Linked DNA regions of Homo sapiens: all the other regions are linked to region 1. Evidence: promoter capture Hi-C in 16 types of primary human blood cells and fetal thymus (Javierre and others, 2016). All regions are on one chromosome and are shown on one strand. The core of a region is centred on a gene start or on the middle of the fragment in contact, and the rest is flanking DNA. Distances in the headings are between cores, read along the strand shown.

Evidence for each region. The method cuts DNA at HindIII sites, captures the fragments that hold promoters and counts their contacts. A CHiCAGO score of 5 or more calls a contact.
Region 2: a fragment that was not itself captured here is called in contact with the fragment with the promoter of LINC02881 in region 1 in 1 of 17 cell types (M1 macrophages); the score reaches 5.1 in M1 macrophages.
Region 3: a contact is called between a fragment that was not itself captured here and the fragment with the promoter of LINC02881 in region 1, in 2 of 17 cell types (M0 macrophages and monocytes). The highest score is 5.3, in M0 macrophages.
Region 4: the fragment with the promoter of LINC00619 here is called in contact with the fragment with the promoter of LINC02881 in region 1 in 5 of 17 cell types (M1 macrophages, megakaryocytes, M2 macrophages and 2 more); the score reaches 6.0 in M1 macrophages.
Region 5: a contact is called between a fragment that was not itself captured here and the fragment with the promoter of LINC02881 in region 1, in 1 of 17 cell types (megakaryocytes). The highest score is 5.4, in megakaryocytes.
Region 6: a contact is called between a fragment that was not itself captured here and the fragment with the promoter of LINC02881 in region 1, in 1 of 17 cell types (erythroblasts). The highest score is 5.1, in erythroblasts.

What each region holds. Positions count from the first base shown.
Region 1 is chr10:44,290,353-44,294,919 of GRCh38, reverse strand. It overlaps LINC02881 (long intergenic non-protein coding RNA 2881), which reads right to left and starts at 2,170. Exons shown (of 3, transcript NR_164139.1): 1 at 1,987-2,170; 2 at 1,431-1,619; 3 at 271-1,007. It overlaps LOC124902544 (a long non-coding RNA gene), which reads left to right. Exons shown (of 3, transcript XR_007062369.1): 3 at 1-1,006. The HindIII fragment of the contact is 4,267 bases long and covers 503-4,567 here.
Region 2 is chr10:43,779,691-43,784,257 of GRCh38, reverse strand. LOC105378275 (a long non-coding RNA gene) reads right to left here. Exons shown (of 3, transcript XR_945906.4): 1 at 4,375-4,567. Among named protein-coding and RNA genes, the nearest start is that of LINC02658, 3.1 kb to the right of the region's middle. The HindIII fragment of the contact is 5,528 bases long and covers 1-4,567 here.
Region 3 is chr10:43,823,392-43,827,958 of GRCh38, reverse strand. No RefSeq gene overlaps it. Among named protein-coding and RNA genes, the nearest start is that of LINC00619, 20 kb to the left of the region's middle. The HindIII fragment of the contact is 5,025 bases long and covers 1-4,567 here.
Region 4 is chr10:43,843,501-43,848,067 of GRCh38, reverse strand. LINC00619 (long intergenic non-protein coding RNA 619) reads right to left here and starts at 2,762. Exons shown (of 3, transcript NR_033923.1): 1 at 2,661-2,762; 2 at 2,466-2,535. The HindIII fragment of the contact is 2,595 bases long and covers 2,038-4,567 here.
Region 5 is chr10:43,903,998-43,908,564 of GRCh38, reverse strand. It overlaps LINC02659 (long intergenic non-protein coding RNA 2659), which reads left to right. Exons shown (of 3, transcript NR_184145.1): 2 at 4,344-4,567. Among named protein-coding and RNA genes, the nearest start is that of LINC00841, 3.0 kb to the left of the region's middle. The HindIII fragment of the contact is 7,287 bases long and covers 1-4,567 here.
Region 6 is chr10:43,932,073-43,936,639 of GRCh38, reverse strand. The region is part of intron 2 of LINC00841 (long intergenic non-protein coding RNA 841); the gene reads right to left. Among named protein-coding and RNA genes, the nearest start is that of LINC02659, 22 kb to the right of the region's middle. The HindIII fragment of the contact is 6,851 bases long and covers 1-4,567 here.

The sequences.
Region 1 (4,567 bases), core at 921-3,420:
CCGCCCCTCAGGATGGGGAGTGTACTGAGGCGGAGGTATTATGACGCATTGCCCAGGAACTGATTACAGCCTTTCTGAAAATATCAGAACAAACCAAAGTACTTTTTTTCTCTCACTCAACAACAATCAACACAGAAGACTTCTGTGACCAAATGTGTGGGTTTTCTCCCCACCACAAGCAAGAAGGCAGTTCTACATCGGACAATTCCAACATCGACACCTTCTACCTGGAGGTGGCCTCACACCCCACAAGCCCAAGCCTCATGTCCCAAGCCTGCCCTCCACTTCCAATGCCAATGGCAAGGTGGTCTTACCTGTGCTTCTGACCCACTGGCGTTCCCACGAATCAATGTTCCCAGGACGCCTCCTAACACTTGAATAATTCGCTAGAGCAGCTCACAGAGCTCAGGGAAAGGCCTACTTACATTTACTATAAAGGATGTTACAGAGGAGAGAGACACAGAGATGCCTGGGGCAAGACATATGAGGAGGGCGAGAAGCTTCCATGCCCTCCTGGGGCTGTCGAACTAAAACGAAGAAGCTGAAAGTTTTGCTCCAAATGCCATTGTTTATCCATTTTTGACCACCTGATCTGTTCCATTAGCTTCAAAAGATGCCTTTTCATTTGTTTCGTTTTGCCTTCGATGGCCTTCCGCCTGCCGCAAGCAACCCTCTAGAATATGGGCCTGTGCTTGGCTTTTCTACACAAACATGAGCAGCCTTCAATTACTGGGGGACATTCATTTCCTCCTTCCAACTAGAGAGCGAGGAGTGTCCCGGGGAGAGTGGGTCCTTGAGCTCCTCTGGGCCTTGCTTGGGACTTGGTCCAGGAGGTTATGGGAAGAAACTGGTTTAGAAGCTGACCTCATGGGTTCGCTATTCTTATGTAACACTTAGGAAGAGCAGAGACCCACGCGATTCAGTCCCAGAGCAATGTTGCGGTCAAGAGAACACAGTCCAGCTACCAACAGTTATTTCAAAATAATTCAAGCTCTTTGTTTATATTTCTGAAAGAAAGAAAGAAAAAAAAAGGGTGGCCCAGCTGGAAACTCGGCTTTAAGTCCCCTTTCAGGGGGCCCTCAGGTGGGCACCTGCTTGGAAACCTCTCCACCCCTCCAAACACCCTTTTCCTCTCTGAGTGTTCATTTGTTGATCCAGATTCTGAATAAATGAAGCCGTACAGAATCCACCTGGCAAAAATGGAAACTGCCTGGAGGCCAGGGCTGAGGGAAGGCCTGGAGCAGAGCCGGTGCGCGACCTCGCAGTGAGCAGGGAGGGCAGGCTGGGGACGTTCACCACCCAGAACGCCTCTGCTCCCCGCAACCCTGAGACTCCAGGCTCCCCTGTTCCTCCCTCCGGGAGACCCTGCCCGTCCTCCCCGCGGGGCTCCTTCGCAGTTCGGGGGAAGGGACGGGTTGCGTCCTCGGGACCTTTCTCTGCAGCCACAGCAGCGCATCCCAGCACCTCCTCCAGGAGCCCCGCCACCTCCTGCCACCCGGACTTTCCCCACAGCGCAGCGTCCCCTCGTCCTCTCAGGGCTGGAACAGCGGTACCCGCAGACAGTGCAAAAGGGAAGTCCCTGTTGCCTTCCCATGCAAACTGTAGGGCGCTTACAGCTGCTGGGAGAGGAAAGGAAAGAAGAAATACAGTGAGTGTGATATGGGTACAAAGAAACCAACACGGAGCTTCCGTGGGCCTAGAAAGGAGCCCCCAGGAGAAGTACACTGGGCCTGCGTCATCGCCTGCCTTCAGCGGGCTCCATCCTTCCCCAGGCCCCCCTCCCCACCCACCTCCCACCCGCGGTCCTCCCGAGGCCCCCCTCCCCGCCCCCCCTTCTCGCTTCCCCATCCCCCTCCCACCCGCGGCCCTCCCGAAGCCCCCCTCCCCACCTCCCCACCTCCATTCTTCGCCTCCCCAACCCCGCTCCGAGTCTCCCCGCCTCCCTATCCCGCCTCCCACCCGCGGCCCTCCCGACGCCCCCTTCACCTCCCCACTCCCGAGGCCCTCCTGAGGCCCCTGGGCTCCCGCTCCTCCGAGTTGCCTGCGGCCGAGTCCTGGCGCGGCCTGGGACTGCCTGTTGGGGGGAGGGGGTGGGGGGGGGTCGTTCCCAAAGAAGGGGAAGGAGGCCTTTCGTGAGCATCTGAGGAGTACATCCTCATTTTGTCTTCTCACTCTGTCCACCCAGAGCCTGTGACCCGGATCCAACCCGCGGCGCACAGACCCCGGCTCTGGGCACCCCTGGTGAGCGCCTTCTGCGCCAGAGCTCCGTACAGCACCAGCCCGCGCTCTCCCCCAGCTTCTGTTCATTTGCTGCAGTCCTGACGGGTCAGTTGCCTGAGCATCCATGCTGCCATCCATACAAACCCAGGCACGCAGAGATGTACATCCTTTACCCAGGGTGACACCATGTGGAGCTGAATCCAAGTCCGGGAGTCTGATGACCGTGTCTGGGCTCTGACCGCGCAGCCGTCTCACAGTGAAACAAATTGCGGACTGGCCTTGTCCTGAGTGGCCTTAGGAAGCTGCAGTGGCCTGCAGTCTCCTGGCCAGTCTGTAGAATTTGGCAAAGATGAGGCACCTTATAGCCTTACATGTTCTTATTTTTCTTTCCTTTTCTCTTCTTTATTTTCTTTTTTAAGGATTTGAATTAGTATATGTAAAGTGCTTAACGCAGGAGCTGGCAGAGAAAGTGGATACTCAGTAAATAACAGCAATTGTTAATTGTAAAAAGCATGCCACTTATCTGGTAAAATCCCCCATTCTAAGCACCCTGTTAAGTAGTTGGTAATTCCTCACTTGAAAGAAATTAAAAAGAATTTTTGTCAGTTTTTTAAAATATTGTTTTATTGTGATAAAATATTCATAACATAAATTTCACTCTTTTAATACTTTTTAAGTGTACAATGCAGATTAATAAGAGAAATGCATACAAATTTATTAACGTGTACACGGGAAAAATAAGGTGATTACCCAATATCCCATGAGGTCCAGATACTTATACAGCGTTTTTTCAGAGAGGAGGGTGGAAGGCGGAATGTAGGTGATTCTGTTGAGGGGCAATAAATTATTATTAAGGAGAATGAATGGGTCAAGAAACAGAGAGTTATTCGTAAATGGTTCTCTTTGAAAATTTAATAAGCTGGAGAAATGGATTATTTTTTTGAAAGCGTCTGTTCAGGTGTGGTCACGTGTTGGTTTTCTTTTCTGCAATAGATAATGAGATAAGAGGGAGGAGAAGGAAAAGTAATTGTTCTCTTTGGTGGGTCTGCAGGGTCTTCATGTAGATAAGGGAGAGGACTCTTCCAGCTTCTGTTGATCTTGAGGGACTTTAATTGAAAATACTCATACCAGGGAGCCATATTTTGGGGCCAAGTTCCCTGCGCTCCTTCAATCCTCCTGTTTGGAACTTCCCTAGAATTTCACATTATCAACAGCTGAATCAGTGATTATGGAGAGATTTGGGTTAGAGGAAAAGAAGGCAAAGAAGGGGAAAAAACAAATTGGGATAAGCAGAAAAGAAAAATAAATAAATATGTTGTCCCATATCTTCTTGAATCAGTCTCTTAGTCCTAAGAGTAGAAGCATTTGGTCAAACAGCTGTGTCCATTCTAGGAGGTGGCACTACAGAGGGGCTGGGCTTCTACAGCTGATGCAGGCAAGCTGGTCTTTAATAAGAGGCATTTCTATGGAAACAAAGAAAAACAAAGGTTTTTCTTAATGTCTGGAATAGTCCATAATAAACTAGTTTTTCTAGAGTCTCAGAAGTATCTTCAGATTGTAGTGGTAATCTTACAGATTTTCCTGGATTATAGTTTGAATTACGTGTTCATGTGAACTTCCTGAGTAGCCCATACATCAGCAGGCACAAAGGCTGTGTACATGTGAGTTGCTGTGCTGACTCCTCCTGAAGTTTATATCAAGTTGTCTAACTTTAGTTTGCAGGGCTTCAAGAAAAGCAGTTTTAAATTCTAGTGATTCCAAGTGAGAAAAATGAGAGAAAAGTTCAAAAGCATTAGTTTGAAGACTTGCAGCCAAGAAAGAATTCAGGATTTAGTCCAAATTGTAGGAAAATAATAAAAACTCAAAAACAATGGGCAAGACTAGAATCTGATAACAGGCATACTGTACTTGTCTTCTGAAATGCAATTTTTCTCTCCCGTTTCCCCGTTTTTACCAAGGATAAATCATAATTATGCTTGACAACATATATCATGATATATCAAAATAATAACATATTCAGAAAAATATGACTAAAAAATTAAACTCCATTATTTATTTGAGATTTGACAATGCTTCCCATATGATTTTAACATACCAAATAAGCTAAATATATCTTTCTTAGATTTCTAGAGGTTACTTTTGGAAAAGATTTAATTTTAGAAACTGAAATTTGACTTTGGGTAGTATATCAAATATTAAAGGTTTAAAACACTTGATCAAATTAGGATCACAGTTCACTGTAAATAATAGTCATTCATTTAACCAAAGCAATAATTCAAAAATTTCAAACAACCTTTACTCTTTGAGAGAGAAGACTCAGTTATCTAAATAATCAAAAGACCTAATA
Region 2 (4,567 bases), core at 1,130-3,629, 510 kb after region 1:
TCTTCAGTTAGGCCAGCCATCAGCTCATTGACAGAAGGACTGCTCTCTGATTCAGGGTGGGGTCCCCACCTCCTAACTCACAAGCTCAGTGCTCAGTAGGTGTCTATTGAATGAATATATGATGGACACCTTTCCAACATATGACTTTGCTCCTGAAAGTTCTGGATTCCCTTCCTCTCCTTGGTGGATCACTTAAGAGAGGGAAGATCAGTTCACTTCCCCTTCATTGAATCACTCTTGTGTATTCTCAAGAGATTTCATAAGGTCAGACAAAATCAACTTCTCAAGTTCAAGCCAGAACTCTTTTTTTACATTACCAGTATTTCAGAAACCGAGGTCCTCATTTGTTAAAAGACAAAGAGAACTCATCCTTGTCCAAGCCAACAGTGGACATAGAAGAGCATGAGCACACTTGGCCAAAGTGCATCCTAGGAGGAGGCCCAGCATACACAAAGGCCCTGAAGCCAGAGCTCACCTGGTATTTGCAGGAAGAGCAAGGCCTCCAGAGTCAGGAGTGGAATGGGTAGGGAGGAGAGGCTTTTCCAACACGAGAAGCCATGGGGCTATTTGAGAGCACCAGCAGAGGAGGTGCAGAGCTGAATGTATGTTTTAAAAGTCTTACCATAGCTACTATGTAGAGAAGACATTGCAGGGGCTGACTGCGAGGGAAGAATTGGGAGACAGCGCTGCTACCTCTCCTCCGCTACTCTCTGGCTCCCCTGAACAGATTTAGAAAGAGAAGGTTTATGGGGAAATCAGGTGGAGGAAAGAGGTCAGGGAAACAGTACAGGGAGCAGTTCTCTGGTCAACGCCAAGAGTCGTTCCCTTGCCAGGCATGGCAGGGCTTGGTCGTGGCCTGGGTTTTGAGCCATGACAGAGGAAGTTACTGGCCTTTGAACTAGGCTGATGGATTTGCTCCATCTTGGGCTAGGAGACAATGATTGAGGTCAGCTATCAAAGCCTTTCTATGAAACCTCCAGAAAGTAACCACAGCTCAGACCTAAGACTGCTCAGTGGCCTGAGAGCCAACAACATGGGCCTGTGAGGGGAGAGATGACCACAGGCCCCAAGCCGTTGTCCCTCCCTATCTGTCCCAGGCTCAGACACTGCCAGCTTCTGCACGTGATTCTTGGTTCAGCCCCTTAGGTTCCCATGCTGTGGAAATTCCCCCAGGATTCTGAAGACCAGGTGAGTGGCCTCAGTAGGAGCACAGCCCTGGGGTCCAGGAAGGGCTAGACATGACACCCATCGTGCCCCTTGCTGGCTGAGTCTGTGGGGTTGTGCATGCCTGGGCGGGTGGGTGTCCTCTGTAAGTGGGGTCAGTTACTCCGCCAACCTTGATGAGCTGCTGGAAGTACCCAGCATGATACCTGGTATGCAATACACATGCAGTAAGAATCTGTTAGTATCCAAGCGTTTCTGTTTCTTCCTAGGTCTTTTCATGGAAAGGGAGAGGAGGTTGTATCTGGAATTCTTACCAGGTGCCATTTTCCATGGAAACCTAAAATATATTTTGGAATCATGTAGAGCTAGTCCCTTCTCCTAGTTTTCTTTTTAAAGTTTCCTAATTGCTTTTCTATATAGGTTTGTACAGATTCTCTAAAGTAGCCTAAGAATCTGAATGGTCCTGGGTTGAGTTTGGTGCTCCTGGCTGGGAAGGGGTGAGGCCCACTGCTGAGAAGTGACTGACGTCTAGCTGTGGCCCCAAAAGAAGGTGGAAGGAAGCAGCGTCCGGCTCTCTGTGACTCCATCCACACAGGAGGGCTTGCCCACACCATCATGACGGGCTGAATATTTGGAAACTTGGAAACTCAGAATTCAGTTTTGGTCTCCTCCACTCTCAGGAAACCCAGATGACATGTGTCTGTGCATGCACATGGCCCTTTGGCTACACAGGGCAAAGTGAAGGCTGGTGGGGCCCCTGGAAATAAGCAAATAAAGAGCAGCCCCCACTGTCTTCAGGGGCTTGGTGTCCTGCAGTGGGAGGTCAGTGCCCCTGCAGAGCCTGCCCTGTCTTGCCACCAGTGCCTCCCAGAAGCCTGGCCCCATGCAGGAAGTGCTTATCAGTGAGATTGTTGAAGAGCAAACAGTCAATGTGGTCTCTACCACAACTGGCATGATTAATTTAGGGGCTGAGTCAGCTGGCTATGACAATTTTTGTCCCCTTCTGCATATAGAAACCAAAACTCTACTGTAGGCTGGTTGTGGGGAGAGGGCATTAAACTCTGACAGGTTGCAAATGTCCTGGGGAAAATGACCTCTGCTCCCTCTGCTCCCACCCGGATCCCTGCTCTGGAGGCCTGGACTAATTAGCGTCTGGCAGGTGTCTGGAAAGAGCTGCCTGGCCGGCCATGGTGACATCATGGCTGGGCATTGCTCCCCCATTCCACTGCTGAGAAAGTCTCTGTTTCATTAGGCTTCCAGGATTACTTTTTAATTTTTTTTAATCCCCTTTGTAGGTTCTGGCTCCAATCAGTCTTGGAGAACATTCTGCACGCTCCTTCCCACTCCCACTGCCTCAACAACTGTGCTCCAGTTAAAGTTACTGTTCCCGGAGGAGTGAGGCTCACCTTCCCCAGGCAGCAGGCGCAGCCCTACAACCCAGCCCCCACACATCAGCACCAGCAACCCACACTGCTGTTGCTTTATACTCATATACTAGGGATGGAGATTTCAATGTGGCTGCTGTGTTCTCAACTTTGTGCTTTTCAGATGTTTCTAAAGGGCTTCTTCATCACCTCACTTGTTCCTGGATTGTAGTTGGAATGCAATTTAGATACTTCAAATAGTTAAGTTGGTTCAGACATTTGTAGTCTTGGGAATAATCCACTTGATAAGTTGTGGAATAAAAAAAGCTAAAAACCTGTGTTCACGGAACTATACAAAACAAAGAGTGAACCCTACAGTAACCTAGGGACTTTAATTAATAAGAATTCATCAGTATTGGTTCATCCATTGTACAAACATTCCACATTAATGCAATATGTTTGTAATAGGGAAACTGGGGTCAGGGGAGAGCATGTGGGAACTCTCCATTGTGTCTGCTCCACTTTTTTAAGCCAAAAACTGCTCTCAAAAATTGTCTGTTAATTTAAAAATAGTAATATGAGCAGGAGAGAAGTAGATGGTGGCATAGATGAAATAAGATTAGCCCATAGTTGGGGTAATTTTTGAGAATGGGTGATGGGTCTGTGGGTGGGGGTTCATTATAAATTATGAAACTCATAATTTTAATACAGTTTTTTTTAACAAAACTTATACTAATTCAACAATGTGTCTTTTCTCATTACAAAATAATTCACATACACTGTAGATATTTGAAAAATATTAGAAAGTACCTATAATGAAGTCACCCAAAAATATCTATCATCAGCATTTTGATATGGCTATATATACAGATAACAAAATGGGGGTCTTACTGAGGAAGCAGCTTAGGGCCCTGTCCTTTTCTTCAACTTTGTAATGTACTAAGAACATCTTCCCATGTCTTAAAATAACTCCAAAAGCATGCTTTTTAAATAGCCACATAACATTTCATGGTATAACTGAAGTCCAGAAATTGAATTCCCACCTTAATGGCCCTCGTCTCGTCTGGCTGAGATCATCAGAGGTGTGAGTCTGCCATGCACATCAGGCCTGCAGCAGAGAAGCCTGACAGTAAGAAGGCCCTTTGGCCTTGGTGTCCAGCTGGGGGTGAATTTCTCACATTCAAGTTGTAAATGCACCTCCACGCTGTGTAACAGGGTGGAAAAGGCACATTTCCCCTTTGGGATGTACATAACCTCGGGTAGATTTACTATTTACAAAAAGGCAGAGGCTGGACTTGAGTATTCAGGGCCCTAACGTGAGTGTCGTTGCTTTCCTTGGACCAGAGGCCCAGGTGGGGTCCAGGGGGTGCCCAGGAATCAAGATAATTTCTGCACCACTGAGTCACCCTGACCTTCCCTCCTGCCCAAGAAAGCACGTCAGAGGGCAAGTGAGTGAGAATGATGTTACAGCAATAAAATTCACTTACAAACTAGCAAACCCTTGAACTCAACCTCCCTCCCAACTGTGGCTGCAAACCACCCAGAGGATGGCCCACTGGCTGCAGGTGGGCCCAGGAGCCCAAGGCTGGGCCTAATGATGGGTCTTCTCAGATAACCATCCCTCTCCTGGGGCAGAGAATCAAGGTTAAAGTTGGATTGCAATGGGACCCAGAAGCCGAGTAGATGGAATGCACCCTGGCCAGACTGTAGATCATACATCTAATGAGACTTCTAGCCAGATATGGAAGAAGCAGATTCTCAGTGCACGAGCCAGTTCTTCCAGAAGCTAAGCAGATACAGGCGCCAGCCCACCAAGACCTTTGCCAAAGGTATTTTCTTCACATACCTGGAGAGAAAAGAGGGCCTACAACTTTAAATCTGAGGAATATGTTTTCTAAAAGCCAGGTCCCTTGCCAATATATCCGGATCTTTATCTTGGAGAGTTTATCTAATCAGACAACACCAAGGAGTAAAATCCATACTTCAGAGGAACTGGCACCGTCAAGAAACTCACGGAATACCCGTGTGTCTGGGTCAAG
Region 3 (4,567 bases), core at 910-3,409, 470 kb after region 1:
CAAGTTTGGGACACGGCTGATCCTGCAGCATCTGGACAAGCAGCAAGAGCTGGGAGGAGATAGTGGAACAGTGGAAGATCTGAAGCTAAGAGTCTCAAGGTGGGCTGGTGAGCGATCTCACAGCTGGGAAAGTCTTGCAGACCCGAGACACGGAGTCCCTACTTTCCTTCTTTGATTTAGAAACTTTTGTGAAGGGAGATAGCTGTGTGAAGACATGGGAGAAACCAACTCTTTACTTAAATTCTATAGGTTTAAGTTTTATTATGGTTTGTGTTGATCAAAACTCTTTATAGCCTATACCTAGAGTACTCAAACTCAGAGAGACAGAAAGTAGAATTGGTAGTTACCAGGGTCTAGGGATGGGAGAGAATGGGGAGTCTGTGTTTAATGGGGACAGAGTTTCTGTCTGAGATGATGGAAAAGTTCTGGAGATAGATGGTGATGATGTTGTACAACAACGTGAATGTACAAACTTTACATTATGTACATCTTACCACAATAAAAAAATCTTTTAAAATATAAACCAAAAAAAAAACCTCTTTATAATCTCTTTCAAGTGAGGAATTACCAAGTGCTCAACAGGCTGCTTAGAATGGGAGGCAGGGGTGAGGGGCAATGCCAGGCACATGACCCGCTTTGTACACTTACGATTGCTGCTATTTATTGAGTGTCTACCCTCTCTGCCAGCTCCTACACTAAGCACTTTACATGTACTCATTCTAATCCTAAAAAAAGAGAAAAGGAAAGAAAAACAGGAGCCTGCAAGGCTTCGAGGTGCATTGTATTTCCCACATTTTACAGAATCAACTTAGTGTCCTTGTGGTAAGAGTGTTTCTGGTGAGATGGTAAAGTCGTGTGTTTGTGAATTGTACATCATTCAATTCAATTCTTTTGGAGTTAATGATTCTACAAGAAAATATAGTCGAACTAGACATTCACTTACAGTGGAGCTCCGCTGGGTTCCCTAACTCTTAGTAACAGAGCTGCCCCCTCCGCTTCCCCTCACGCCCAGAGTCCTAGTAACAGAGTTGCCCGCGGAGAGGCTGCTGCTCTCAGGCCCTGGTCAGGGTGATGGATGTGAGTTTGCTCAGTCCTTCCTCCACGTGGGATAACCGAGAATATCCAGAATTTTTACCTAAATTGGAACTGGCACACAAAGCGTAAAGTCTGGCAAAAGAGGACTAAGCAGATACATGTGAAACTACCACAGTCAAACAGCCTCTAGTGGCACAGCTGTGGGACATCGATGCACTTGTCAATGGTGGGGACTGGACAGGAGGCTGCAGGCCACTGCACCGTCCTAAGGCCACTCAGGACAAGGCCAGTCCCCAATTTGTTTCACTGTGAGACAGCTGCGCAGTCAGAGCCCAGATACGGTCACCAGACTCCCGGACTTGGATTCAGCTCCACATCGTGTCACCCTGGCTAAAGGATGTACACCTCTGCGTGACTGGGTTTGTCACCTGGCAGCATGGATGCTCAAGCGACTGACCTGTCAGGACAGCAGCAAATGAACTGAAGCTGGGGGAGCGTGCAGGCTGGTGCTGTGTGGAGCTCTGGGGCAGAAGGCACTCACCAGGGGTGCCCAGAGCCGGGGTCTGTGAGTCGCGCGCTGGGTCCGGGTCACAGGCGCTGGGTGAACAGATTGAGAAGACAAAATGAGGATGTACTCCTTACATGCTCACGAAAAGCCTTCTTCCCCTTCGTTGGGAACGACCCCCCCAGACACTAGACCCAGGCCACACCTGGAGTCAGCCGCAGGCAACTCAGAGGAGCGCGAGCCCGGGAGCCTCGGGAGGGCCTCGGAGGTGGGTGGGGGTGAGGGGAGCCTCAGGAGGGCCGCGGGTGGTGAGGGGGGCCTCTGGAAGGTCTGGAGCCCGCTGAAGGCAGGCGATGACGCAGGCCCAGTGCACATGTCCCAGGGCTCCTGTCTAGGCACACGGAAGCTGCATGTTCGTTTCTTTGTACCCATATCACACTTACTGTATTTCTTCTTCTTCTTTCTTTTCCTCCCCCAGCAGCTCTAAGCGCCCTACAGCTTCCATGGAAAGGCAAAAGGGACTTCCCTATTGCACCGTCTGCGGGTACCACTGTTCCAGCCCTGAAGGGACTAGGGGATGCTGCGCTGTGGGGAAAGTCCGGGTGGCAGGAGATGGCGGGGCTCCTGGAGGAGGTGCTGGGATGCGCTGCTGTGGCTGCTGAGAAAGGTCCTGAGGGCGCAGCCCGCCCTTTCCCCGAGCTGCGAGCTGCGAGCTGCGAGGGAGCCCGGCGGGGAGGACCGGCAGGGTCTCTGGGAGGGAGGAACAGGGGAGCCTGGAGTCTCAGGGCTGCCGGGAGCAGAGGCGCTCTGGGTGGTGAACGTCCCCAGCCTGCCCTCCCTGCTCACTGCGGAGTCACGCGCCCGCTCTGCTCTGGGCCTCCCCTCAGCTCTGGCCTCCAGGCAGTTTCCTTTCTGCCAGGTAGATTCTGTGCGACTTCATTTATTCAGAATCTGGATCAGCAAATGAACATTCAGGTAGGAAAGGGGTGTTTGGAAGGGTGGAGAGGTTTCCAAGCAGGCGCCCACCTGAGGGGCCCCCTGAAGGGAAACAAAGGGGACTTAAAGCCAGGTTTCCAGCTCGGCCACCCCTTCCTTTTTTTGTCTTTTTTCTTTTTTAAAAAAATATAAACAAAGAGCTTGAATTATTTTGAAATAACTATTGGTAGCTGGACTGTGTTCTCTTGACCACAACATTGCTCTGGGACTGAACCGCGTGGGTCTCTGCTCTTCCTAAGTGTTACATAAGAATAGCGAACCCATGAGGTCAGCTTCTAAACCAGTTTCTTCCCATAACCTCCTGGACCAAGGCCCAAGCAAGGCCGAGAGGAGCTCAAGGTCCCACTCTCACCAGGACGGGCCTCTCTCTCTAGTTGGCAGGAGGCGATGAATGTCGCCCAGTAATTTAAGGTTGTTCATGTTTGGGTAGAAAAGCCAAGCACAGGCCCATATTCTAGAGGATTGCTTGTGGCAGGCAGAAGGCCATCAAAGGCAAACCCAAACAAACAAAAAAGTGTCTTTTGAAGCTAATGGAGCAGATCAGATTGGTGAAAAGTAGATTAACAATAGCATTTGGAACAAAACTTTCAGCATAGTGCTTGCCCGAAAGTACTTACAGCCCTTTAAAATTGAGAGTGGGACCAGGCACTATGGCTCACAACTGTAATCCCAGCACTTTGGGAGGCTGAGGCGGGCAGATCACTTGAGTCCAGGAGTTTGAGACCAGCCTGGGCAACATAGTGAAAACCTGCCACTACTAAAAATACAAAGAGTAGCCGGGCACAGTGGCGCTCACCTGTAATCCCAGCTACTTGGAGGCTGAGGCACGAGAATTGCTTGAACCTGGGAGGCAGAGGTTGCAGTGAGCCAAGGTCGTGCCACTGCACTCCAGCCTGGATAACAGAGTGAGACTCTGTCTCAAAAATAAAATAAAATAAATAACATTGTCACTGGGTGGAATTGTAGACAAGGCAAAGATGTGTCTACACAGTTCCAACCAAGAGTAAGGCAATTATAAAAATCCACTTTTGCATACCTAAGGGCATTGCCTAGATATTTGGAATCATATATTTGGTTAATTTGAGTTTTTTCATAGAAAGCAGGTAAACATAGCCAACTTTTATAATGAAGTAAATTTTCAATCTCATGTTAACCTTAACTCTTTCATAGTCTGAATAGACCATATTCACAGTGATATGAGAGCCAGACATTTTAAATAAAATCACAGGAATAATGTTCTTTGTTTATGTCACAATTACACTAAGCCAGCAGTCCCCAACCTTTTTGGCACCAGGGACCAGTTTCATGGAAGACAATTTTTCCACAGGCAGGGTGTATGGGTCAGGATGAAACAGTTCCACCTCAGATCATCAGGCATTAGTTAGATTCTTATAAAGAACGTGCAGCCTAGAACCCTCATATGTGCAGTTCACAGTAGGGTTCATGCTCCTATGAGAATCTAATGCCACTACTGATCTGACAGGAAGCAGAGCTCATGCAGCAATGCTCACTCACCACTCACCTCGTGCTGTAGCATCCCAGTTCCTAACAGGCCACAGACCAGTATCAGCCCATAGGTTGCAGACCCCTGCTCTAAGTAGTCCAAAATGGCTTACCAAATGCAGCCTTCCAAATATGCCAGATATTCTCATTGTGCGCTAAAATTTCTTTATTATAAAAGTCAGAGTTAGTAAATAAAGTTACAAAAACAAAAGACACATATAATATAATGTAAAATATAATCCAAATCATGACTCCTTCCGTATGACTTTCTAAAATGTAGTATTTTTCTTGGAAAATGTCACAACTTGTAAGTGTGGCAAAAACTCACTAGAAACAGCATTCTGAGTACTCCAGTGACAACATTGTTAAAACACTCTGAGTCCATGCATTTAATATTCTATATTAAGGCCTCTCTACTCCCATAATTTCCCCTACATAGCACTATGAAGTCATGTAAGGGTAGTCAGAAGGAAACAAAACTATTAAAAATATCCTCCAAAAATGAAAAGATGCCAAAAAATCACACAA
Region 4 (4,567 bases), core at 1,513-4,012, 450 kb after region 1:
GCAGCTTCTGCATGGGTCTGTTGGCAGTCTCATTATTGGAATCCAGTTGCCATGATGTGAGGCACCCATGCCACATGAAGAGTCTATGTCTAAGTCTATGCATGAGTTCCAGCATCAACCTGCAGCCAGGCGAGCAAGCCATCCAGGGTGCCTAGGCCAGCTGAGCCTTCAGATGAATACAGCCCCAGTCAACATATGACTGTGACCACCCAGCCAACCACAGAACAATGGGAGATAATAAATTCTTATTAAACCACTAAGTTTCTGCATAGTTTTCTAGGCAGCAATAGCTGAAGAAATACTCTCTAATAAATACCAAAATAAAGATGTAATGAAGAATAGGCCAGTATACACAATAGAAGAGAAGGAACACTGGGAGCTAGGTGTTCTAGCCTTAACTCTGCTACCAGCTAGTTGTTTAGGATCACGTAACCTCTCTAGGTCTTTTGGGAGAGAGTATTTTAATTTAAGAGATGAGGCCAGTCATATGTAACCCTAAGTCTTTCACCCTATGTGTGCATTTTTATAATTTGCTTTTACCAAACTTTATTGTATAACTAAAGTAAATAATTTAATTCAGATTTAATTCAGATGTTCTCGTAGTATGAGTAAGGAAGTAAAAAATAAGTGCTACCAGCATCACAATTTTGCCTTGGGTTGGTCCAGTTTAAGAAGCAAAGAAAAAAGTGGGACACCAGAGAACAGAGCTGGAGGGCGTCTTCAAGAGTAAAGACTCCAGCCTGCTGTAGAGACCCAATCAAGAAAATGAGTTGCCAGTAATTAAAATGTGCCTGTTAGAAATAGGACGGTGACCCAGGGTCAATGACAGGAAGGGTTTGGGGGTTGCATTGTTTTGCTTTGTTTTGTTTTTCTTCTGAGTTTAAATGAAGGGTTTGATGATGTTGGCAAGTTGCTTGCTTCACAAGGAGAGGGTCAGAACTCAATGAGGGCTTCCAGCTCAGATATCATCTTTCCAGGATTTTGAGCTCTTCCCTTTGTTTCTAAAGCAGAAATGTGATCACATGGCTCCCCTGCTGAAAACTTTATCGTGCTCCTATTGTCTGCAGCAAAAGGAACAATTCGAATTTCTCCATCTGGCCCCTCCTGCTTCCTCACCACCCACCCACCCAGCCCCCACGCCCCCCACGCCCCCCACGCCCCGACACATTGAGCACCAGTCCTTACTGAGGTGTCTTGTCCTTCTCCCTCGGGATGCTCATCTCCCAGATGGAGAACCAGGTAAAGATATGCTTCTGTCTTACCCCTGGCCCACATCCTGTTGAAGTTCCCTGACTGCAGCTACAGCAACTTTGATTTTGGAAATGATTTGAGAGCAGCTTGCTGTAAAAGCGCTCTACTTTGGGCTGGCAGCTGGACTTTACCTTCACCATTTGCCATGCAGGTGAGCCTTGGACTTAGCTGGTTCTTGGTGTGCTTGCCACAGACTTGGTGACGCCCCATCCCTCCGCTGACAACCGGAAATTCTTCACTTCCTGCCTGGTGCTTCCCAGCGCGCCCTGCTGCCAGGAGAACGGCGGCAGGCAGGCGTCTTTTCAGGATGCCCTTCCAGCTGCCCGAGGGCCCCGCTCCTCCTCTGCCCTTAGCATCAGGGACACGTCCACTCCCTCCCAAGCCTCTGCAAATGCTCCCTGCTCTAGGAATGAGGTGGAGCAAACAGCACTTAGCACAAAGGCCAACCTTCCACAAGGAGTAGCTGTTTTTACATCATTTCCTCATCCACTTTTACAATTACATGAATAATTCTTAAATAAGTAATATATACACATGACAAAATCAAAGGCACAAGAGGTCAAATCAAAGGTCAAGAGGCACATCATTCAGTTTCTGACTCCACATCTGTTTTATCTGGCATGCTAGTGTGTGGCATGCATAGCACTCATTCCTGGGTTTTTTTAAATACTCAAATAAATTTTATTTTCTCTTTAGTTTGCCGAATAAATTCAGCACATCTTTCTTGGCATTGCAAATCACGTATTCCTGATGTGGACAGTCCCAGTTCTAAGAACTATGGAAGCTTATTATGTTTTTTTTTAAGCTGAAAATATTCTGATTTTTAAATGTCAAAAAACACAAATGTATAAAAGGTTTATGATGAAAGTCCCAGTCCTATCTTTAGCACTGGGTTGCCCAATTACCCAAGACCCTCCACTGGGAGGCAAATATAATTTTTAAAATATTTTTTAATATTTTGCTATTAATAAACTAAGATAGCCACCTGTAGCTGACCATGTCCTCCTTTTGCCACTGCAATGTCAAAATGCCCACTTCTGTTTTGGCACTAAGATAATACAGTTCTGATTTTCTGCATGAGTCTCCTCCGCCATACTGCAGGCACCTTGACCGCAGGGAACACTAAGGCATCAACAGATGTCTCTGGGACGATGTTGACAGAGCCGTTCCCCCACAGAACTTAATAATCAATGAGACCGATAAACTGCACATACCTGTGGAACTTTGGGGAGCCAAGGGTCAGAATCCACCATACCCACATCTCTTCTTCCACATCTCTTCTTCCTGTTTCCAGAGCAGCAACCAAGGCTCATACCAGCCTCTCACCCACTTCAGACACACCCCTTGCCCTCACCTGTGGGGCAGGTTTCCCAGGCTCTGGGGCCACTGCCCGTCTGGACAGGAAGTACCTGGAGGAGAGGTCCGGGGGTGGAATGCTTTGGCCAGAGGAGCAGGCTGGCTCCACGCTTGTCTGCTGGGGGCGGGATGATTCCTTTGGACTCATGGCATCTGGCCTCTCTGGCAGCAGATTCTCCCTTTTCTAAGCCTGCCCTACCCCCTCATGATTCTCTGGATTTCTCACGTTGCACCTGCCTCAGACCACAGGCCACTTAATGACCTCAGAGACTAAGTAACCACCATGCCAACTAAAATGTGACCTGCATGCCCCTCCCTTGGTTATGATTTAGGTTTTACACCACAATCCCTTCTAGTTATTTGGTTTCTTTTTTTGTTTTGTTTTTCCCATGCCTTTCAAATGTAAGCCTTGGGAGGAAGGAATTCTTGTCCCTTCTGTTCACTGTGATATTCTTCCGAACAGTGTTCACTGGATAGAAGGCCTTCAATAAATAGTACTCAAATAAATAAATGACTACATAAATTGTCAAGATACAATCTTCCAGGAACTGTACTAATGGCTGGAAAACAGAAGTGGGGGGAAAAGAAAAAGAGGCCTCACCCTCAGGGAACTAACAATCTTCTGGAGAAAAAAAAATGGGCTAATATGTATACATGTGGATATATAATTTAAAATTAAGGATGTTAGGAAGGATAATTCTGTTGTTTCTACCCCACAGGGCAAGGTTGTTAGTTTTTGTTTTGCTTTGTTTTGTCATGCTGTATTAACTGTGAAAGTGTATCCTCCACCTCCTGAGAATCAATCACTTCTTGGTATTCTCAATCACTCCACTATAATTATAATCCGGATTTTCAGAGTCAGAAATTCCTGTTTCTAGCCTTTGTTCTGATGTGGAGCAGGATCTCCCTGAGTTGCTTCACTGGAGACTACAAGCCTGCAGACACAGGGCCCCCTCCTCCTGTGGACACCCTTCAGCCTCACAGACTGGCAGCACTTGCAAACCCTCGAGAATGTCATCATCTACCCGCCTGGTACAGCAGCCTCTGTGAGAGGTGGGCCCCTTGGCTCCTTCCCTTCATGGAATTCTGTGAGTTTTTTATGACTAAAAAAGGAATTCACAAGTCCACCTCGCAATGGTGAGATGCAGATGGTTTTTGAACATAGAGCCCCAAGTCACCAACTTTTCATCATTATTGCCAGCCCAAACCTAAATCAACATTCAGTTGCTTTTATAAGAAGTAGGTGAAAGATCTTGAGGGAAAAAAGTCATGGAACACTTGAAGATTACACTGGATGAAGAGAATTATCTTTATTGAACCCAGATCTAAAAAGCAGGGCTCACTCAGGAAGAATTCCATCCACAGGCCAGCACATTTGCTCTGGAGTGGAGCACCCAGAACTGCACGATGTATGGAACTGACAGGTTCTGTCTTTCCACCTCTTTCTTTGGCAGGCCCGGATCTGTTTTTCATTGTCTTCGCCACATGTTTTCTCCTTGGTGTATGTTGCAATTTTTGACTTGTAGAGCATCAAAAAGAAACAAAGCAAACCTCCAAGAACAGCAGAATTTGGCCAGAGCCAAAAGCAACTCAGAATTTGAACTGAACTTGCTCAAAGCAGGGCAAGAAGACAGAGGCTTACGAAAATGCCTTTTGTTTGAACCAAAGACTGGAGCCAAAGAATCTGTGTCCAGAAGCTCTTGTGCATGGATGAGCCTCCGATCCCAACCTTCAAGAAGCCAGCTGGACAAGGAGAGGCTGGCAGCTGTGTCCCAGAGAGCTGAAGCCACAAACCCATCCCGCTTTGGCACTGAAGTTCGAGCCCCATGGAGCTTGGAGAGTTCTAACAGATTCCACCCCCACGGCAGTGGATCTATCCCCGGGTTTAGGGTGATGTGCATTCCAGGCACACTGTGTCCATTAACTCAGTGACACATTCTAATATTCTACTGATTGCATC
Region 5 (4,567 bases), core at 1,315-3,814, 390 kb after region 1:
TACTTTTTTAACCTGACTTTTCCCTTGTGATTTGGAACTCACATCTACTATTTTCATTCTGTTAGTAATGACATTTAATAAGTATGCACTGGAATCTACTTTCTCTAATTTTCATTATCAAAAATAGGCCTGGCATAGTGGCTCACACTTGCAATCCCAGTGCTTTGGGAGGCTGAGGTAGGAGGATCACTTGAGCCCAGGAGTTCAAAGTTACAGTAAGCTGTGATTGCACCACTGCACTTCAGTTTGGGCAACAGAGCAAGACCCCTCTTCAGGAAAAAAAAAAAAAAAGACAATATAAATTGATCCTTCTCTGTGTGATATGAGGAATATACTCCACTTTTACATCTTGTCTTCTGGCCATTCAATTCCCAATTTTTAGTGATACAGTAGGTTATTTGAACTAGATAACTATTACTTAGTTAATATTTTTAACCATGTGTCCTCTTTTGGAAATTATTTTTGGCATTCTTGTTGTGTTTTAATGTCCCATTGAGAATTACATTAATTTTGTTCTATAGTTTATGTTTGTTTGGGGGGAAGAGGTTATTTGTTTATTTTTATTAGTATTTTATATCATGAATTCTCCATTTTTGGATTTGATATTTTGATTCCTCACTCAGTTGGCTTAAAAATGACTCACTAAGATGTTTCTTGTTTGCATTTTTTTGTGGCTGTTGTCTGTCCAGACCCTCACATGGGGTCTGAACTTCTCAAGTTCACAAGAGAACGCAGCTTTTCTGCACTGGGATCTCAATGTCTGCATGGCAGCTAGGGGAGCCAAAATGGGAGAATGCAGGACAGACACTTCAATTTAAATTTCAGATAAACATGAAATAACGCTTCTGGTATAAGAATGCCCCCAATATTGCCTGGGCATCCTGCATTTTATCTGGAAACCCCATGTGGGTCACCATACTTTTCTTGGTCACATTTCTGCAACTGATGATCATTGTCTTCGTGTTACAAAGAAACAGGAACCAAGTTTTATCGCCTTGACCCTCACTGAATTTGTGGGGGCTTTTTCTTGAAATTAAAATAAATTATCAGGGTAAGTCTAGGCAAAAAAAAGCCCTTCATTATTTTATCTAGATTTCTGAAGAGTCTTTCTTTAACTTGGGAAAATTTCCACCAAATAGTTCTTTAATGATAGCTCCACTTTTGGAGGTTCTTTCTCTGGAATGCCTAATATTTATAAATTAAATATATCTCAGCCCATGCTTTTCCTATATTTTCTCTAATTAACCTTCTCTTATCCTCTTCCTCTGACTTCTGTGATGTCAAATTTGACTTCTCTCTTATAAAACCTTTTTTACTGAAAGGTCCATTTTGCTCTCCCCTTCCCCGTTTCCATTTCTGAAATGAACATTTTTTAAATCATCTCACAGCCTTCCCTACCCTGTTTGTTTTTTTTCTTTATGGTTCTCTACTCGAATTTCATAGAAGAAATGCTCATTTGAAGTTTATTGGAAACACAGATCAGAAGTGTTCTCAAAATTTTCCCATCTCTTTCAGAAACTATATTTTATAGGAAAATATTTCCCCTGATTCCTCAGAGTGCTTCCTCCTTTTGAACTGTGCTATCTTCTCATTCTCCTGGTGATTTTCATCTGTGTGCTCGACATTACAGAGGGAATGCAATGTTTGTCCAGAACCATTAGTGGGGATCCCGGTCTGAGTTATTCCGACCCAAGGGAAGGGGCAGGGAAGAAGACCGAGTTCTCAGTTCTCTATGCTGATTCAGCAGCCCCGGGAGCCAGGAAGCAAGCCGTTCTGAGATGGCCTGAGTGGAGCGTCTCTGCCCTTGGTTCTTTTCTCAGTTTGGAAGCCACTGGGAGTTTCCTGGAAGTGCCCTTGTTCTCTGCTGAGCGCCAGCGAGGTTCACCCCTGTTCTTGGCCTGTTCATGGCTCACAGCCCATGACAAGTGTCAGCTGGGGTTAGTGCCTCCCTGGCTTTGTGAAAGGCAGAATCTCTACCTACAAATCTTACAGCCTCCCTCTTCCCCTCTGGGCCTCTCTTCTGGACAGCGCACATGCCAGGAAAAGCTACAGGGCATTGGAGAGAGTCTTCTAGACCTTCCCCGTGATCCTTCCCAACTACATTGTTCCTTCTTTACATGTAAGGAACTAAGCTAAGGGAACTCTCGACATTTCCATCATGCGGCTGTCACCCTACCCTTCCCTCAGCCGATTCACATTTCCCCATTCATACAGTAACAAAGCATGTCAGCATGTAGTTTGCTTAGGATAATTTCTCAGATTTCACAGTATGAATATTTCACTGAATTTTCTCCCTTGAACAGAGTCCATTTTTCCTTTTTCTGGAACAAATGATATGTAAAAAACTGTATGAACCCCATTTTCATTTGGAAGCTGTTCCATGAAATATATTATCTAATTTAACAATGGGTCCCATTGTCAAATTTATTCTCAATACGAAGGCCAGCCATAGATTATCAAAACTTGCAGGCTGGTCAGCGTTCTGTGGGCTTCTGGTGAGATGTTTTACAGATAACATTCTGTATAGGAAGCAATCATGGCTTCATTCTATGATAGGCAAGGTGCCAGGAAATGCTAAATCAAGTGGCAATCGAGTCCCTAAAGAAAGTCATTTCTGATTTATGGTGATAGCTCCAACAATTCTGCTGAACTTTTTACACACTGAAATGACTACTTAGTTATGTTTTCCATTGGAGCAGAGAACAGCTGGCCTGCCAGAGACCCAGCACAGCAGCTGGAATGCAGAAACTCTCATACCATTAACCCCAAAGCCTGAGAAAAAGATTTCTTATTTCTGAAATGTAAGCGCTTGTTTTCTCCCAGCACATCTGACACCCTGAGTCTGTGGTGGCGTTCAGAAAGTGGGAAGCAGCCTGAACTGGGCTGGAGGCGAGGGCAGGAAAAGAGGAGTCAGGCGCTGGCACAATGGGGACTGAGCACTAGCAGGAGCTCCCCAAGGGCCGGGGGTGGTCTGCGTTATTTTTTAATTTATCACAGTTTCAACAGACTTATCTCGAGCAGTCTTGTCTTCCAGCTGCTGGAGCTGCCTGAAACCCTCTAGAGTGTGTGTGTGTGTGTGTGTGTGTGTGTGTGTGTGTCCACGTGCACGTGTGTGTTTTCTTCTGTGTTTGTATATTTTGCTCCTGGAGCTTTAAGAAGAGCCTAGATTAGTATTGTCCAATAGAGTGTGATACAAAGCACATACATAGTTTCAAATGTTCTAGGAGCCACACTAAAAAAAAAAAAAAAAAAAAAAAAAACAGTAAAGAGAAACTAGTAAAATCATGTAATATAATTTATTTAACTTAATACATCCAAAATATTATCAGTTCAGCATGTAACCTTCACATAACTTATTAATGGGATCGGTTGCTTTCTTCTCTTCAGGCCAGGTCTTTGAGCTCGTGTGTGTCTGCCATGCACTTCACACTCACAGCCCACCTCCTGTGGATTGGCCACACGCCTGGGTCTCAGTAGCTCGTGTGCCGGCAGCTGGGATGGGGGCAGGCTGGGCAGTGAAGAAGAACAACCTCCCCCTGTTCTAACTCATTCAGCTCTGCTCGGGTCTTCGTATTTCCCTGGCCCTGAAGCTCCCCCTCTCGGAGGTGCCCCTCTACCAGCCCCTTGAAGAATCGTGTGTGAACCATCACTCCTAGCCCTGTGCTACCAGCCCACCTCACTCACAGCTCATGCAGAACTTTGTAACTAAAATCCCAGGACCTGGAAAATACATGTCTGGGAGCTCCCAGACATAACAATCACTTCTGGACTCCCAGGAGAAGGCCATATCTTTCCCTTGGTCTTCCCTGCCCACTTCCAATCGTTGTCTCACCCTGTTTCTCCACAAACTCTCTCCTCTTTTCCTCTCTGCTCTCCCTTTCCAGATTGAGCAGGATGGTGGTGGGGCTGCTGGGGGGGCATTTCTGGGTCCTGTCCTGGGGAAACAGCTTGCAGAGGGGAGGCAGGGAAGGGCAAGGCATGCTCTCACTTCACTGTCAGTCCTGCAGCTAAGAGTCTGAGGCTGGACCACCGCCTCTGCATGGGACAACAAAACCGGGCTGGCGGCACTCCCGCGACAGTTCCCAGACACCCACAACCCAGGCAGGTGGCGCACCTGAGTAAAGGTGTCTGGGTATCGGATGGGACTGGTGGGCCTGGAAAACACAGGCCCCACCCAGGACATTTAAATTCAGCTTTTAACCCTGTGCAAGCCAAGCAAAACCAGTGGGAGCCAAAGAGTCATCAGCTTGTGGTTCCCAAGAGAGGGACGGGTCCTGGGGACTCTGTTCACAGCTTGTAGGTATCGAGGGACAGCTACCTTGCCTCCTGCCCCACCCTTTTAGGGATCTGCTGTCTATAAACTGCCGGATGTCAGGTACCTGGTTCATCATCTTCATTTTCATGCACGTCAACAGCCACATCACTGACCTTCCAACAAATCTTCCAGCCTTACCGACCCTCAGTCCTCGCCTCTAATGGCCCTATATTCCATCCGGAATCGGACCCTCAAGTGAAGTGAAATGCAGCCTGTAACTCAGAGAGTGGCAGGTTGTCTCCTCTGAACCGG
Region 6 (4,567 bases), core at 773-3,272, 360 kb after region 1:
TCTGTCTCCACTAAAAACACACACACACACACACACACAAAAAGTAGCCATGTGTGGTGGTGCATGACTGTAGTCCCAGCTACTCAGGAGGCTGAGGCAGGAGAATTGTTTGAACCCAAAAAGCAGAGGTTGCAGTGAGCCGAGATTGCGCCACTGCATTCCAGACTGGGCAACAGAGCAAGACTCTGTCTCAAAAATAAAAATAAAAATAAATCTTCAAAAAACAAAAATCGTCAGTCTTAGCATTTTTTAAATGGCCGAAAAGTTTACTTTTTTTCCTGTGAACTTCTTTTTATTGGGAAATCTACCTTCTGATTTCAAAGTCTCCTTACTGAAGTATATTCTCTGTTATGTCTTCTACGAGGTTTTGTGGAATCCATCACATCTTCATGGACTATTATGCCATCTGTGAGTAAAAATAACTTTAATTCTTCCTTTCCACTCTCAGTGACTTTTTTCTCTTTCTTGCCTAATTGCCCTGACAGGAACACCCAGTATCTGTTGACTAGAAAAGGTAAAGACAGACACCTTGTTCTGTTTCTGATCATAATGGGAAGGATTCGGTCTGTCAGCCTGAAGTAGGAACATTAACTACAGAGTTTTTTCCTAACTGCCTTCTGTCAGATCAGGAAACTTTTTCTCTATTCCTAGTTTTCTGAGAGTTTTTATCAGGAATACGTGATGAGTTTTGTCAAATACTTTTTCTGTGTTTGTTGAGATGATAGGTGGGGTTTTTTTTTTCGTTTTCAATTTCCTAATGTGGTGAAATGCACTGACTGATTTTCAAATGTTAAATCATCATTGAATCCCTGCAATACAACTACTCGGTGGTGATTCATTTTTTATATTATTGAATTCGGTTTGCTAAAAAAAATGTTTTTAAGAGTGTTTCCCTCTACGATGGATTGAATTCTATCCCCCAAATTTATATGTTGAAGCCTTAACCCCCAATGTGACTATATCGAGAGATAGGGCATTTAATGAGGTAATTAAAGTTAAATGAGGTCATAAGGATGGGATCTTAATCCAATAAGACTGGTGTCCTTATAAGAAGAGGGAGAAATACCAGGAGTGAATGTGCATGAGGAAAGGCCATGTGAGGACATGCAAGAAGACAGCCTTCTGCAAGCCCAGGAGAGAGGACCCACCAGCAGCCTGCTGGCACCTTGATCTCATCTTCCAACCTCCAAAACTGTGAGAAAATAAAGTTCTGTTGTTTAAGACAGCTGGTCTGTGATATTTTCTTATGGTAGCCTGAGGGAACTAATACAGCATCTATGTTCATAAATGATATTGGTCTGCAATGTTCTTTTTCAGTTAAGGCTTTGATTTTAGTATCAGGATAAAATTGGCCTTATAGATTGAGTTGGAACATATTCACTCCTCTCCAAATTTCTGGAATAATGTCTGTAGGACTCATATTATTTCTTTCTTAAATGTTTAGAAGAATTGCCAGCAGAGTCATATGGGCCTGGAGGTTTGTTGTGGGAAGGTTTTAACAACTAATTATTTGTTTGATATAGAGCTATCTATCAAGTAGAGCTATCTCTACTTGACTGAGCATTGGTAGTTTGTATCTTTCAAGGGCTTTGTCCATTTTATATAAATTGTTGATTTATTGGCACAAAGTTGTTTAAAATATTTCTTTATTTTATTTTCAACATCTGTAGAATCTGTAGTGATGTCACCTCTCTCATTCCTATACTTGATCCTAGCCAAAACTCCGAGAAGGGATCCTCTCTCATTTCTAATATTAGTAATTTCTTTTCTAATCGGCATGCAATAAGGTTTATCAATTTTGTTAATCTTGTCAAAGAAGCAACTATTAATTTATTTAAGTTTATCTATTTTACTTCTGTTATAGATTTCATTGATTCCTATTCTGATCTTTATTATTTTCTTTCTTTTATTTAACTTGTGTTTAACTTGTTCTGCCATCCCTAATTTAAGGTAGATGCTGTTGTCATTGATTTGAGACATTCTTTTCTATAATAGAATTATAGTGCTATAACTTTCCCCTAGGAACTGCTTTAGCTGCTTACCACAAATATTGATATGTACTATTTTCTTTTTCAGGTAGTTCAAAACACTTTAGAAGTTCATTTTAATGTAGTTTTCATTTTTGCTCATGGTTTATGTTGAACTGTTTTACTCAGTTTTCAAATATTTGAGAATTTTCCAGAGGTTTTCAAAAATTGATTTCTAATTTAATATATTGGAGTCAGAGAACATACTTTGTAAAATGCTTTTAAGTTTATAGAGATTTTGCAAATGTTATGGATTGAATTTTATCCTCCTCCGCAAATTTATATGTTGAAGCCTTAACCCCCAGTGTGACTATATTTGGAGCTAGTGAGACAGGATAGTTCCCTTGAGCCCCTTTGTGGGCAGGAACTGGAGTGGCTTGTTTCACTCAGCCAGCTGTTGGCCACTCCTTGAGAGAGGGAGCACATGAGCAAGCAAGTGCAGGAACCAGAGGGAATGAATGCTAGAGCCAGCCGGTCACTCCTCTCTGTCAGGAGCAGGTTGTGTGGGCCCTGCAGCAGTGTCCAAGTCCCTGCCCTCTGAGCACCCAGGTTCTTGCCTGGCATCCAGGAAGAATCAGGTCACACAAACAGACTGAAGGGTAGTGTATGCAGAGGATTTTATTAGGTGATAAAGGTGGCTCCTTGTGGGATGGGGAATTGGAAAGGGGATGGTGCGGAAAGAAGGTGATCTTTCCCTGAAGCCACACCATCTGACGTTAGCCGTGTCTATCCTTAGTCTCAGAAGCTCCCTTGCTGCTTCTGTGCTTGCCACTCAGCAGCTTGTATTGCTCTGCCAGCTGATGTCTTTTTGTGGCAGAGCAATACAGAATAGGGGAGTGATAGACCAAAAAGGCAACATTTGGGCATTAAAAACAAGGTCAGCTGTTTTCACTTAGGGCTACAGTTCCAGGCTTAAGGGTGGGGTTTAGCCAGGAGCCCAAACATTCTGTATCAATAAGGCCTCCAATTCATGGCAAGAATATGGTATAATATGGTAAATGTCTTGAGTGCGCTTGAAAAGAATATGTATTCTGCTGTTGTCAGAGGTGTCAATTCATTCTAGCTGGCTGACTGTTGTTCAAAGTTTCTACATTATTATTGATTTTCTGTTATATAGCATATAAGTTATGGAGAAAGGGCTAGTTAAATCTCTGATTATACCTATGGATCTGTCTATTTCTCCTTCAAGTTCTCCCAGGTTTTGCTTCATTTATTGTGAAGTTCTTATTACATGCATAAAATTTAGAATTGTTACGTCATGTTGATAAATTAATGCCTTTGTTATTTTGAAATGACCTCCAAATGACCTTCTTCATTCCTGGTAGAAATTGTTGCTCTGAAATCTACTTTGCCTTGTATTTAAAATAGCCACTCCAGGTTTCTTTTGATTAGAGTTAGAATAGTTTTTTTTAATTCTTATACTTTTCATTTATTTATATCTTTGTATTTAAAATGAGTTTTACTTAGGCCGCATATGCTCAGTCTTACTTTTTTTTTTTTTTTTTTTTTGAGACAGGGTCTCACTCTGTCACCCTGGCTACAGGACAGTGGCACAACCAATTCTCATGTCTTGGCCACTGAAGTAGCTGGGATTCCAGGCTTTAGCCACCACACGTGGCCTTACTTCTTTTAAATTTACATTATAAATGGGTTGCATCTGATAATGTCTTCTTTTATATTGAGGTATGTAACTCATTTACATTTAATGTAGTTATTGATTTGATTAAGAATAGGCAACAAAAGAAAAAATGGATAAATTGAACTTCATGAACATTTAAAATTTTTGTGCATCAGAAGACACTATTGGCAGAGTAAAAACAACTCACAGAATGGGAGAATATATTTGCAAATCACTTATTTCATAAGAGATTAATATCCAGAATGTATATAGAAATTCTAAAACTCAACAACAAAAAACTAACAACTCAATTCAAAAATGGGCAAAGGACTTCAGAAAATATTTCTCCAAAGAAAATGCACAGATAGCTAATAAGCACATGAAAAGATGCTCAACGTTACTAATCATCAAATGCAAATCAAAACAAGATACCACCTCACACCATTAAGAGGGCTACTATTTTATATACATATATATTTTTTAATGAAAAGTAACCCTTAGCAAGGGTGTGGATAAATTGGAACCCATGTGCACTGTTGATGGGAATGTAAAATGATGCAGCTACTGTGTAAAATAATATGTCAGTTTCTAAAAAAATTTAAAAATACAATTATCTTATGATCTAGAAATCCCACTTCTGAGTGTATATTTAAAAGAATTGAAAGCAGGGTCTCCAAGAGATATTTGCACACCATGTTCATAGCAGCATTATTCACAATTGCTAAAATGAGGAAGCCAGCCAGATGTCTATCAATGGATGAATGGATAAGGAAACTGCTATCTATACACACAATGGAATATTACTCAGCCTTAAAAAGGAAGGAAATTCTGACAGATGATACAACATGGATGAACCTTAAGGACTTTATGCTCAGTAAAATAAGCTCATCATCACAAAAAGATAGATAGTATGTGATTCCTC